Regions from separate parts of the Homo sapiens genome. Here region 2 is linked to region 1. The links are contacts of gene promoters, found by promoter capture Hi-C in human tissues and cell types (Jung and others, 2019). All regions are on one chromosome and are shown on one strand. The core of a region is centred on a gene start or on the middle of the fragment in contact, and the rest is flanking DNA. Distances in the headings are between cores, read along the strand shown. Region 1 holds the start of MAN1C1 (mannosidase alpha class 1C member 1). Region 2 has its middle 22 kb from the start of LDLRAP1.

Region 1 (6,683 bases), core at 2,846-5,345:
TACCCCTCACATGGGGTGTTGTAAGGATCAAATAAGTTAGTCTTTTTTTTTTTTTTTTTTTTTTAGACACAGCCTCACTGTATCACCAAGGCTAGAGAGCAGTGGCGTGATCTTGGCTCCCTGTAGCCTCTACCTCCCAGGTTCAAGTGATTCTCGTGCCTTAGCCTCCTGAGTAGCTGGGATTACAGGCACATGCCACCACGCCGAGCTAATTTCTGTATTTTTAGTAGAGACAGGGTTTCACCATGTGGGCCAGGCTGGTCTCGAACTTCTGACCTCAGGTGATCCGTCCACCTTGGCCTCCCAAAGTGCTGAGATTACAGGCATGAGCCACTGTGCCTGGCCAGTTTAGTCTTTAACTTGTTTTTAAAAGGGCTCAATCGCATAATAAGTTCTCCATCCATCTTAGTAGTTGCTAATAGCATTAACAGAAAACACATAGATTCTGTGATTAGATGGGCCTGATTTCTTCTCATATTCGCCCTGTGTGGCTTTGGACAAGTCATGTCACATCCTGAGTCTCAGTTTCCCCATCTGCTAAACTGGGGTCTTGAAACCTACCTCAGAGAGGGCTGTTGCGAGGGTGAGATAGGATGTGAGTGAAGCACTAGCACTGGTGCCTGGGGGTTCCCTTCCTGATGGGCCGGATTGGTCTGTGTTTGTTGCCTTTTAGACAAGAAGTTCCATGAAGGTGGGCTTCATGTCTGTGTCAGGGCTGTATCCCCTGCCTCTCTGTACCTGGCACATAGTAGATGTTCAATAAGTAGTTTTTCACTGGATGAATGAATCAATAGTAACAAGGGACCATGCTTTGCTCACCTTTGTGTCCAAAACTAGTGCAATACCTTGCATCTAATTTGAATAAATATTTGTTGACAGAATAAATAGATTTTTTAGAAATAGCTGTTTGTTTCTGTTCCCAGTTCCATTTGAATTTCTGAATTAAACTGAGAAAGATACTGTGAAGGTTAATTTTGTGTGTCAATTTGACTGGGCTACGGGATGCTTACATAGCTGGTAAAACATTACTTCTGGGTGTGTCTGTAAGGGAATTTCTGGAAGAGATTAGTAATTGAATCAGTAAATTGAGTAAAGAAGATCTGCCCTTACCAGTATGGGTGGGCAGCATCCAATCCACTGATGGCTGAAACAGAACTAAAAGGAAGAGGAATGGCAAATCCATGCTCTGTGCTTGAGCTGGAACATCCATCTTCTCCTGCCCTTGGACATCAGCTCTCCTGGTTCTCGGGTCTTCAGACTCAGACTGGGATTTACACTATCGGCTCTTGTGGTTCTCAGGCCTCCTGGCTTGGACTGGAACTACACCACCAGCTTTTTAGACCTCCAGATTGCAGATGGCAGATTGTGGAACTTCTCAGCCTTCCATAATCACAGAAGTCAATCCCTCATAATAAATCTCTTTTTATATATCTATATATAGCCTATTGGTTCTGTTCTGGAGAACTCTGATTAATATAGATACTTATAACTCATCCCAAGTCTCTCTAAGCCTTGGTATTCTTATCTGTAAAATGGGGCTATTAATAATTATCTACCACAAAGATTATTCTGAAAAGTAAATAAGACAATATGTATTTGGCACATAGAAAATGTTAGTTCACTGTTCTTCCATTCCCCGAGCTTCAGTTTCTACATCTGTGAAATGGGCATCTACTCACTCATTTCTTCATTCATTTACTGAGCAAACACAGTGCCCATGTGGAAGGCATTGTGGTTAAGACCCGGGGCAGTTAGAGAAGTTAGAGAGTTAGAGAAGTGAGGAAGCCGTGGTGAAGAACTGAGCATCTGCTTTGTGACAACACACCAATAGTCTTTAAAAGTCAGTGGGAGAAGAGCCACGGGATGTATGAGGTCTCTGGGGGCTAGAGGTGTGGGGCAAGGGGACACCCAGGGTTTCAGAGAGCTTTTTAGAGAGACTGGTATCTCCCTAGCAAGTGATGGTATCAACAACTTGGTGTGATCACCAACATCACATCACTTTGCAATGGAGTTACCTGCTGGGGCCTCTGGTTTTCATAGCCTGAGTGTGAAAGGCACGTCAGTCCTGCTGCAGCCCCACTTTCCACCCTGGCTCACAGAGCACACCAGAGTTTGGTCAGAGTGTCACATCACAGTGAGCATCTAGTTCAAACAGACATTTCCTTCTGAGATTCAGCTCTGCTCTTCTCCCTTTCTGGATCCTACCTTCACAGGGGACTGAACAGTGATTCCCCTACACTCTCAATGAGGAACAACACAGATGATGACTCTAATGAATGCTGGGTCCCTGCCTGGTTCTCCAAAGACAAGGTTGCCCTTTCCTGCAGTGGGACCCAGTGAGGCGATGCTTGGGTGTTGGAGACATGGGTGAGGCCAGGCCAGGTCTCTGGGCTCCTGCACCCAAATGGGTCACATGCTTATCTCTGATTTGCACAGCTGGCTCCACATCAACCTGCCAACGAAACTCACAAGAGATTGAAATATCTGAATTAGAATTTTATATTTAAGCTGCATATATTTGTGGGATTGGGAAGGATTAGTCATCTCCAGTGACCAAAATGTTTGCACCTGTTACCCACTTTCATTTTCAGTTGAGAGAAAGTTGCATGCCAGGGATATTTAAACATCGAGGGTGGGTCTGCTGTCAGTGGTCTGGCCAGAGGTAGAAGGATGACTGAGTCCCAGCCGCCCATCCCCAGCAGGCCTCAGGGAAGAAGCAAGATTTACGAGGCGAGAGCCTGCCTGGCCCGCTTCTTCTGTCGGGAAAGGCTTCCCTGCAGTATTTTCTGTCTCGTCAACACTGCATTTCATTTTAAATTGCAGCTGAAAGTAGATATTTTCCCTCTTGCCTATTACAAACCTCTTAATTTGTCTCTCCCTCTGCTGTTATTTGTCTCTATAAAGTGTTTTGCATGAAAGACCCACACAGCACAATGTTGCTTCACCCTGGGTTAGGTTTAACAGGAAGGGAAGATGCAGAGACTAAGTCCAAGGAGGAAGATGTGAGGGCCTTGGGGTTGAGGACACGCGTGTCTGGGAGTTGATGCCTGGCTGTTTTTGGAGGTTATCTGTTGCCTGAGTGTCTGTGGGTATGCGGGTGCACATGTCCATGTTTGTACTAATTTACATATATGTCTATGCATACTGTGGTATAATCACTTGGGTGTCCATACCCAAATTAAGTGTATGTTTGAGTGCATGTACACACCCACATGCCAGTCTCTGTGTGCATATAGATCTATGCCCAGACGCACACATGTGCATATAAACACACGTAGGCATCAAGGTAGACGTCCGTCACATTATGTGTGTGGTCTTCTGTAGACACGCCCGGGGCTCTCTTCCTTTCGCTGCTTCTCAAGGCTGCGGTCAGCCTCCCTCCGTGCTCCACCCAGGAGCCCTGGCCCCGTTTAGGGTTGTGGGAAAAGGAAGGCACGCCAGTGGTCTGCGAGGGGGCCAGTGGAAACATCACCTCCGCCGACCCGGCCGCGGTCACAGCTCTCTGGCTTGGCTCCAGCCACCAGCAGCACCCCTGCAGCCCGGCGTTAGCGCTGAGAAGCCCGGGGCAGCCGCCAGGGCGCGGGCTGCCAGCTCCCTGACAACCCCGGGCTGGCACTCGGGGGCGAGAGAGGTCACCCAGCGACGGGCACACCCCTCCAGAGCAACACCGTCTCCGGCCCGCTTCCGGGGGCCACCAACCCGAGCCTCGCGGGCGGGCTGGGGGGTGGTCTCTGTCGCTTGGGGTCCAGCGAAGGCTGGGCAGTAACCAATGGACGACTGTGGCCCAACGGGGATCCCTCGGATGCAGCCAATGCCCTCGTTGCGCTCTCCGCCCCCGCCCTCGCCTGCCCCGCGCCGCTGGACCATTGGCGCCCGCTGGATGGGGGGTGCGCGCGACGCCTGCCCTTCGGGGAGGGCGGGGCTTGGAGCGGGCTGCGCTCCCGCCCGCGCTCGGCCTCTGCCCCGCCCCCGGACGCGCGGCCCTCAGCCGGCTGCGGCGCGGCGGCGGCGGGAGGGGGCGCGGGGCGCGCGCGTGGGCGTGGCCGGCGGGCGTGGCCGGCGGGCGGCAGGAGGCGGGGCGGCGGGCGCTGTCGCAGTGAAAGCCCGAGCGGCGGCGGCGGCGGGGACGGCGGTGGAGGCGGCCGGGTGGCTGTGCGCGCGTGTGGGGCGCAGGCTCGGCGGCAGCGGCCGGTCTGGAGCGGCCGCTGCGAGGAAGACAGCTGCAGCGGGGGAGGCGCGGCCAGGGCTGCGCGCTCCGCGGAGCCGGCGGGGCCGGGAACAGGTGATCCCAGTGGGAGCCCCGCGCCCTGCCGAGTTCGAGGGGCGGGAGCCCGCGCTCCCGGGCGCATCTGCAGCCGCCCAGCCGCGGCTCCGGACCCAGGCATCCCTGCGCTGTCTGGGGCCCGGGGGAAGCCCCCTGCCCCCGCAGGCTCGGAAGTGCCTGCTCCTGCTCCCTGGCCACTCCGGCTCCCAGCTCCCGGCGCCCTCTCCGCGGCGGAGAAAGTTGTGGACGTGTCCCGATAGTCGAGCCCGGGCGCTGTCGCGACCGGGCCGGGTGTGCGCGCGCTCGGGGCGGCGCTGACACGCCAGCCCCCCATCGCCTCGGTCCCCTCCGGAAACTGCTTCTGAAGCTGAAACTTTGGGCGCCTACCAGCGCGGGCGGGAGCCTAGGGGGCGGAGGGCGGCTTGGTGCGGGCCTGCGGGCGCCCCTCGGCGCGGACAGCCGGGACGCCGCGGACGGCATGTGACGGTCCCGGCGGCCGCAGCGCGGGAAGGCGCGGGCCCCGGCGCGGCGGGGAGGGCTCGGCCGGAGGGGAGGCTGCGGCGCGCGGCCGGTCGCTGCGGGCCCGGGCCCCAAGCCGTGCCGCTCCGCTCGCCCGGGCCCCGCCGAGGCCGCTGCGCCCCCGCCTCCTCGCGGGAGGACTCGCTCCAAACTCCCTGAACTTCGGGGACAGTCCCCCGAAGCGGCGAAACTCTCAGGGTTGGCAACCCTGCCCAGGGACCCCCATCCCGGGCGGCGCTCCGGACGCCCTCCCCTCACCGCGCCCCCGCAGACACGTGCCTGGACTCCGAGGGCTTCTGGAGCCACCGGCCGGGCCACGATGCTCATGAGGAAAGTGCCCGGCTTCGTCCCGGCCTCCCCGTGGGGGCTGCGGCTGCCGCAGAAGTTCCTCTTCCTCCTCTTCCTCTCGGGCCTGGTCACCCTGTGCTTCGGGGCCCTCTTCCTGCTGCCCCACTCCTCTCGCCTCAAGCGCCTCTTCCTGGCCCCCCGGACCCAGCAGCCTGGTCTGGAAGTGGTGGCTGAAATCGCCGGCCATGCCCCGGCCCGCGAGCAGGAGCCGCCTCCCAACCCGGCCCCCGCCGCGCCGGCCCCGGGCGAGGATGACCCCAGCAGCTGGGCCAGTCCCCGCCGCAGGAAAGGGGGGCTGCGGCGCACCCGCCCCACTGGACCCCGCGAGGAGGCCACGGCGGCCCGGGGCAATAGCATCCCGGCCTCCAGGCCCGGGGACGAGGGCGTCCCTTTCCGCTTTGACTTCAACGCATTCCGGAGCCGTCTCCGCCACCCGGTCCTGGGAACGAGGGCCGATGAGAGTCAGGAGCCCCAGAGCCAAGTGCGAGCCCAGCGGGAGAAAATCAAGGAGGTATGGACTCAGCCCCCAAACTCCTCCCACCAACTGCCCCCTCTAAGGAGAGAAGACCCTCTGGCGCTCCCACCCCTTTCCCTTGCCTCAGTCACTCCTGGTCCCAGGTCTACTTCTGGCCCTGCAGACTGCACTTTGCACCTTCCCCTTTCCTCCCAAATGTCCCACCTTCTTTCCTCCCTACACAGTTTCCCACCACTCGGGTCAGTTAATCGTCCCCACCGTGACAGATGGCAGCTGAACCCCTAGACCAACTGCCCCCTCACTCCCAGACTCTGGTATGTCGTATCCAACCCCCAGGCCCAGTGAGCTCCACTCCTTCCCTTTGTGGAGTTGCTAATGAGAGTGGAGTTCAGGTTCCTTAGTGCACCCTCTTTTTGCATTTGTGGACACAGAGCCACTGGTCCCATTCTTTTTCACTGTGTGACCTTAAGTCCAAAACCCCTATAGGACCTGCTTACCTAAAAACCCAGGATTTAAGGGGGTATTTGGTGTCCTGCAAATATTTTGTAATCTAGTAAGCAACCTACAAACCAGAGGATGTTGTGCATTCTGTTTCTATTGAGCTTATTGAGCTTCAGAACAATTGTACACAATTGTACATAATTGCATATGATGCAGGAAGAGATGATAAAGCAGTGGTCATATTACAGAAGCTCCGAGGTTATTGGCATAATGAAGCAGATCTTGAGCTGGTTCCCTGTAGGGATTGTACCAGGAGGGATTTAGAAGGATCACTTTAAGTCTGAGTCTTAGTTTAAGAAATCAAAAGCAAACACAGCCTCACAAGGCTTGAAGACAGTTGCCAGCTTGCCACTGCCACTAAATATTCTGCTGGACCACTGTTAGAACTGCCTGCGTGCGGATGGTGCCCAGCAATGCAGAGGGGGCTGCAGTGACACCCCCAGGCCACGAGGGGGCCGTGGGCAAGCTGTGGGCCAGGGTCTCCTCCCTAGAAACGAGAGGATGCTCTCCCCTCCCCATGGACTCAAAGGAAAGAAAGGGCTGCTTCTGCCTGGACTTCTTGATTTGCTGCGAAGA
Region 2 (6,683 bases), core at 2,992-5,491, 95 kb before region 1:
TGCGCGAGGTGCCTTCTCGTGCCCTGCCTCAGTGGGACCCTCACCTTAGCTCCGTGCAGGTGAGGAGGCTGGGCCTGGGCCAAGCTCTCACAGCTACAGGGTGCTGGGTGGAAGGGGGCCTCCTGCACTCGGAGCTCTTGGCTTGTCTCCACCCAGCAGCTCCCTTGAGGAAGGTGGGGAAGGTCGCAGCTTTGTGCAAAGGGAGCGAGTACACAATGTGGCCGCCTCCTCTTTTCCATCCCATCACCTCTCATTTCACCAACCTGCCTGAGGCTGCAATCAACACTCCCCGCGTGTGGGGGCGGAGCCAACCCACGAGGCCATGCTTCAGGCCCCTGATTGGTTCAGGAGTAGCGCTTGACCTAATGAGGCGCTACCAATGGGATGCAAAGAGACGTTCCCTGGCCTTCTGCCAGAGCGGTTTCCCTGTTCTCCCAACAAACAAACATACCTGGACCACGTGGCGCGAGGATATTAAGTTTAAGATGGTGGCAGCAGTTTTTGAGACCTTGCAGAGAGAGCTGCTGAAAGCTGCTGGGGGCGCAGCCTCTCAGGTTGTACACGAGGTGCTGAGGTTTTTTGTTTTTAATTTATGTATTTATATGTATTTATTGAGACGGAGTCTTCCTCTGTCGCCCAGGCTGGAATGCAATGGCGCCATCTCGGCTCACTGCAACCTCCGCCTCCAGGGTTCAAGTGATTCTCCTGCCTCAGCCTCCTGAGTAGCTGGGATTACAGGCTCCCACCACCACGCCTGGCTAATTTTTGTATTTTTAGTAGAGACGTGGTTTCACCATGTCAGCCAGGCTGGTCTCAAACTCCTGACCTCACACGATTCACCTGCCTCAGCCTCCCAAAGTGCTGGGATTACAGTGTTTTTTTATTTTTATTTTGTTTATTTTTATTTTTTTAAGACAGAGTCTCAGTCTGTCTCCCAGGCTGGAGTGCAGTGGCGCGATCTCGGCTCACTGCAACCTCTGCTGCCTGGGTTCAAGCAATTCTCCTGCCTTAGCCTCCCGAGTAGCTGGGATTACAGGCACCTGCCAGCACACCCAGCTAATTTTTGTATTTTTAGTAGAGACGGGGTTTCACCATCTTGGCCAGGCTGGTCTTGAACTCCTGACCTCGTGATCCACCTGCCTCGGCCTCCCAAAGTGCTGGGATTACAGTCGTGAGCCACCGCGCCTGGCCCGTTTTTTATTTTTTTAGGGTCAGAGTCTCGCTCTGTCACCTTTCAGGCTGGAGGGTGGTGGCATGATCATAGCTCACTGTAGTCTTCAACTCCAGGGCTCAAGCCATCCACTCATCTCAGCTTCCTGAGTAGTTAGGACTACAGGCATGGACCACCACGACTGGCTAATTTTTAACTTTTTTATTTTTGGAGAGCCAGAGTTTCGCTATGTTATCCAGGCTGGTCTCATAACTCCTGAGCTCAAGTGATCCCCTTGCCTCGGCCTCCCAAAGCACTGCTAGGCGTGAGCTACCAGGCCTGGCCCAAGGCACTGAGGTTTGGACTCAGGCTGCCTCCTGCCTCAGCCAGAGTGATGAGCACTCATCCCTTCTGTGTGCTCACCCACCACAGGCCTAGCAGGGACATCTAACTGCAGTAAACTTGTCCTGAATAAATGAACAGCAGGATGAGTGATGCCTGCCCTCAACTTCCTCTCCCAAATGAGCTACTGAACTGGACTTGGGTCCCCTTCAGTTGCTCCCTCCCCCATCTCAAATGTCTCTCAGCCTCAGTCCCCTCATCTGCATAATGTGCATAATAATGGTATCCTAGAATTGTTGTGGAAACTAGAGTTAATATATGTCTGGGACATAGTAGGTACATAGCAAATGCCAATTATTATTATTATTATTATTATTGGTATTATTTCTCTCCAGGAACTTTAGTTTCCTCAGCTGTGAAATAGCAATTCATTTATTCATTCAACCAACTGCTGATCATCGCCCATGTGCCGGCCATTGTGGTTAAGACCTAGAACAGTAGCAGATGAATGAGTCATGGTCTCTGCTTGGAGGGACTAACCTTCTGGTGTGGCGGACAGTCATGTTAAAACCCAGGCCTGGCACAGTGGCTCATGCCTGTATTCCCAGCACTTTGGGAGGCTGAGGCAGGCAGATCTCTTGAGATCAGGAGTTCGAGACCAGCCTGGCCAAGATGGTGAAACCCCGTCTCTACTAAAAATACAAAAATTAGCCGGGCATGGTGGTGTGCGCCAGTAGTCTTAGCTACTTGGGAGGCTGAGGCACGAGAATCACTTGAACACGGAGGTGGAGGTTGCAATGAGCCGAGAGCCGAGATAACCCACTGCACTCCAGCCTGGGCAACAGAGCAAGACTCCGTCTCAAAAAAAAAAAAAAAAACGGAATTAAAACCCAGTGGGAGGAGAGCCACAATATATGTAAAGTCTATGTAGAAGTTAGGCAGCCTAGGGGTGGTGGGCAGCTATCTCCAGAATTGGGCTAATTGAGGGGAAGGATGAGAGCTGACTGTGTCCCTTGCTCTTTCTGGCTTCTCGAGTTGGCATGAAAACTTTTGGGGTGGGCTTCACTGGCTGTTGACTAGGACCATACAGACAGATCACCAGAAAGCCCAGGCTTAGGGTAGGTAGATGAAAGTTAAGGATCAGGGAAGAATGAACCAAACTATATCTCAGGCATTTTCCCCTAAAATGTTACCTTAGTTTTTAAGAATCAAGTGAAATAATATATAAATCTAATTCTTTAAAGACTTTTATCCTTTTGAAAAATGAGTGCAATTTATTTTAATAGAGGTGAATCTGTGATATGAGTAGCCACATTACACCGCCACCTGGTGGCAGCATACTAAAGTCACAGGTTTGTTTTCCTTTGAGACCAAGGGTACACCACAAACTCAGTTGTTTTTGGACGTGAGCAAAGATACCAAAGCCATTTTCCCCTTTCCCCTTCTCCCCAACCCTCTACTAAAACCCACTTCCATGGTTGGAGCTCCCAAGCTTCCAGCATTTTTGATTCAGCCACACCTGCTCCAGTTTCCAGCAGAGAAGCCAGCCTAGTTTTCCTCCCCATCTCCTGCCTCAGGCCCATCCTGCCCTCCAACTCTACATCAGAGCTAAACTCCCCAAGCCCTCGGCTCAGGCCCCAAGGGGAATGTGGATCAGGGAGAGAACCCTGCCCGAGGGTAAAGGTTAAGAGTGCAGATGCTACATGCACTGATGTGGGTTTGAATCTCCAGCTGACCACTTATTGGCTGTGGTCTCTCTACATCTCTAAGGCCTCTCTGAGCTTCACTTTCCCCATCTGGAAAAAGTGGGATGCAGTCTGGATTTCTTTTTCTTTTCTTTTTTTGAGATGGAATTTCACTCTTGTCACCCAGGCTAGAGTACAATCTTGGCTCACTGCAACCTCCACCACCCAGGTTCAAGCGATTCTCCTGCCTCAGCCCCCCGAGTAGCTGGAACTATAGTCATGTGCCACCACACCTGGCTAATTTTTGTGTTTTTAGTAGCGACAGGGTTTCACCACGTTGGCCAGGCTGGTCTCGAACTCCTGACCTCAGGTGTTCCACCTGCCTCGGCCTCCCAAAGTGCTGGGATTACAGCGTGAGCTACCATCCCCAGCCTGGATTTTTTTTTTTTTTTTTTTGAGACATTTTCACTCTGTCACCCAGCCTCTTTCTCCTCTGCTCAAGCAATCCTCCTGCCTCAGCCTCCCAAGTAGCTGAGACTACAGGCACATACCACCATGCCTGGCTAATTTGTTTTTTGTTTTAGAGATGGGGTCTCACTATGTTGCCCAGGCAGCTCTCCAACTCCTGGGCTCAAGAGATGCTCCTGCCTCAGCCTCCCAAAATGCTGGGATTATAGGCATGAGCCACTGCACTCAGCCCTAACAGAGATTTCTTCTTCTTTCTGTTACACGTCCTTCTACTCTTCTTTCTACAAGAACTGGCGTGGGTGGAGACCAAGAAATGCTGGGGAGGAGAGGAATGGAGAAGATCATGAGAAGCAGAATGCCCCTTCACTGCTCTTCCACCCTTTGCCGGAAATGTCTAAGGCCTGTCCTGTAGGACCTCCCTCTCAGGCTCCTCTCCCCATCCCAACCTCTCCAGTTCCCTCCGCCAAAGTTCCTCTGAGCCTGGTCCCCAACACCCTGGGTCATCTGAGAACCCACTTCGCATTGAATGGGCCATGACTGCCTCCCACCCACCCTGACCTCCCCACTCCACCCCCAGCTTGGGGCATTTGCACTGTGTTCCAGGCATTCTGGAAGGGGAGAAGTTTTGGAGCTGGGCTTCCTCAAACTTGGCAATCACTGGAGCTCTGTCCTAAAGCTTAGGAAATCAGCTTTCCACCCAATGGTGATGCTGTCTGGATCTTGTGTGGCCTTGGTCAAGTCACACACTCTCCCTTGAGCCCTGAATTCCCCATCCCGATATAGACCAGCTCTGACAGCATGGCTGCTGGGCCTGCCGAAGGGGTGGGCAGGGTGGGCAGGTCCTCTCCCCCCACCCACTTTCTCCTTGGAGAACCCCAGGATCCTGCTCAGAGGAGGAAGCAGTGCTCCCCCTAGGGAAGCGGATCCCAGGGGACTCCAGAATCCTCCCCCACACTCTGCGGGCAGCCAGCACTAAGTGCTGTATTAATTATTACCAGCCTCCCCTGGGAAGCAAATTCAAAGTGAGGTCACCATGGTAACCCAGACACTGCAATGTGACCAAATTTTTAAAGTGCTCAACATGTTCCAGGCAAATTACCTATCGATGGAAGAGAAAAGAATGAGGCTTCAATCCCACAGTTCAGTGGCCTTAGGAAGAAAAGCCCAGAAGCTCCCATGGGGCCTGGAACCTTTCTACAAAGGAGTGAGGCGGGGACAGGGATGGGAGATCAGAGCCCCACCTCGAGAGAGCAGAGCAGAGATGGAAATGACATCCAGGGTCCTGAATGATCTCTTATGGGTGGGCATGAGGCCTGGCCAGAGAGCCAGAGGGCCTGGGTCCTAGGACCAGCTCTGCCACCATTTAGCTCTGCAGCCCCAGGCCAGTCCCTTGCCCTCTCTGAGCCTCCAGTAAAGCCTCACCCAGAAGTATTTCTTAAAGGACCAGAGAGATGAACCATAGTGAGTTATTAACCTCATATATGAGGGTACGGGGTGGTAAGAAGAAGGGTGAGGGGTTTTTGCGAATCAGGCTTCTAAGGCAGAGACCTAGATTCAAATCCCACTTCTGCCATCCAGCAGCTGTGTGACCTTGGGTCAGAGACTTCACCCCTCTGAGTTGGCTTCCTTACCTGTAAGAGGGGGGCCAATCACAGTCCCACCGCCTCTGGGTGGTTATGAAGTTTAAATCAGATAATCCATGAAAAGCACTCGGCACAGCACCCTGGACAGAGTAGGGCCCCCTGTCATCATCTCTGCTGCCAATTAATAAGTGTCCCACGTGCCAGGCTCTAAGCTGAGCATGATGAACATGATCCATCACCAAATCCTCGCCACATCCTTCCCATGAGGCGGGTGCCATTGTTACTCCACTTTACAGGTGTGGAAATGGAAAGTAAAGCTAGCAGGGCGAGGCAACTCACCAAAGCACACAGATACCCATGGTGGGGGCCTGGATCCTGACCCAGGACCTTCTTCCTCCAGAACTCAGGCCCCTAACCATTCACCTGAGTGAAATGAGATGTGTATTGAGTGCCCAACACAAATGCGTGGCACATTGTTGGTACTCACTAATAGTGGCCACTCACTGGCACATTCAGGGTTCACGTCATAGCCACCGTTTTGCCCCGATCCCCGTCTTCTGGCACTTGGGAACCTGGATCTGGTGGATTCAGCACTTGCATGGCTCAGGCAGTGATGAGGGAATTAAAGGCAGGGACCCACCCCTTCTTCCTGAGCAAGGGTCCCCTCTTCAGGCCACGGCCCAAAGGTGCATCACACTAGCCTTGTCGCCTCCTCTCACTGTCCCTGGGGCACTGGCTACCCTCACACTGCGGAGACACAGATACCCAGCAGTTGTCTCTGACCTCATCCCACCCAAGCTACTCTCTGGCCTTGCGTAGCCCCCGCCCACCCTTTCCTCCTGGGTCAGCCCCACCCCTTCCACCCCACCGTAACCCCCTGGCCAGCCCAGGCAGGACTGGCTTTCCTGGGACAGAATGAGGTCAGGCCTTCTGAGTGATAGATGGTTTTAATAACCAGCCATTCTTACTACCAGCCCATTTGCTCTTCACTGTTCCAGGCCCCACGTAGGGGCTAGAGTCAGCCCAACCAGTCAGGGAGAGCATCAGAGGGGCAGGGACCACCTGCCCAGCCAGCTCAAGGTCCTCCGGGGACCCAGAGCCACTCAAAGCTGAGCCCATGGGAAATAGCCAGCCCAGTGCTAGCCCTTCTGCTTGACAGTGGGATGACCTCAGCAAATCACTGCTCTTCTCTGAGCCTCAGTTTCTCCATCTGTAAAGTGGAGTACATGGGTCCCGCTACCTGCGGGGTCACTGCAGGGACGGAGCACGTGTGGCCTCACTGTGTAAATTTCAGTAGCATTAAGAGGCAATTCTGGTTATTGATCATCTTGGCTGCTGCTGGGTTGGGGTCCTCCAAAAGCTGACCCGGAGACAAGGATGAGAGAGCAGGTAGTTCCCTTGGGCAGTGACCCCAAGAAGCAAGGTGGGAAGTGGGGAAATGAGGCAGGACCAGTT

What was found. The method cuts DNA at HindIII sites, captures the fragments that hold promoters and counts their contacts. A contact is called where the count stands out against the background at its distance.
Region 2: a contact is called between a fragment that was not itself captured here and the fragment with the promoter of MAN1C1 in region 1, in 3 of the 25 tissues and cell types used here (dorsolateral prefrontal cortex, hippocampus and neural progenitor cells).

Annotation. Positions count from the first base shown.
Region 1 is chr1:25,612,696-25,619,378 of GRCh38, forward strand. MAN1C1 (mannosidase alpha class 1C member 1) reads left to right here and starts at 4,096. Exons shown (of 12, transcript NM_020379.4): 1 at 4,096-5,642. The coding sequence starts at 5,103. RefSeq lists an enhancer at 3,362-3,531 and silencers at 3,722-4,011, 4,032-4,321. The HindIII fragment of the contact is 13,132 bases long and covers 1-6,683 here.
Region 2 is chr1:25,517,827-25,524,509 of GRCh38, forward strand. No RefSeq gene overlaps it. Among named protein-coding and RNA genes, the nearest start is that of LDLRAP1, 22 kb to the right of the region's middle. RefSeq lists enhancers at 27-674, 843-1,437. The HindIII fragment of the contact is 7,001 bases long and covers 742-6,683 here.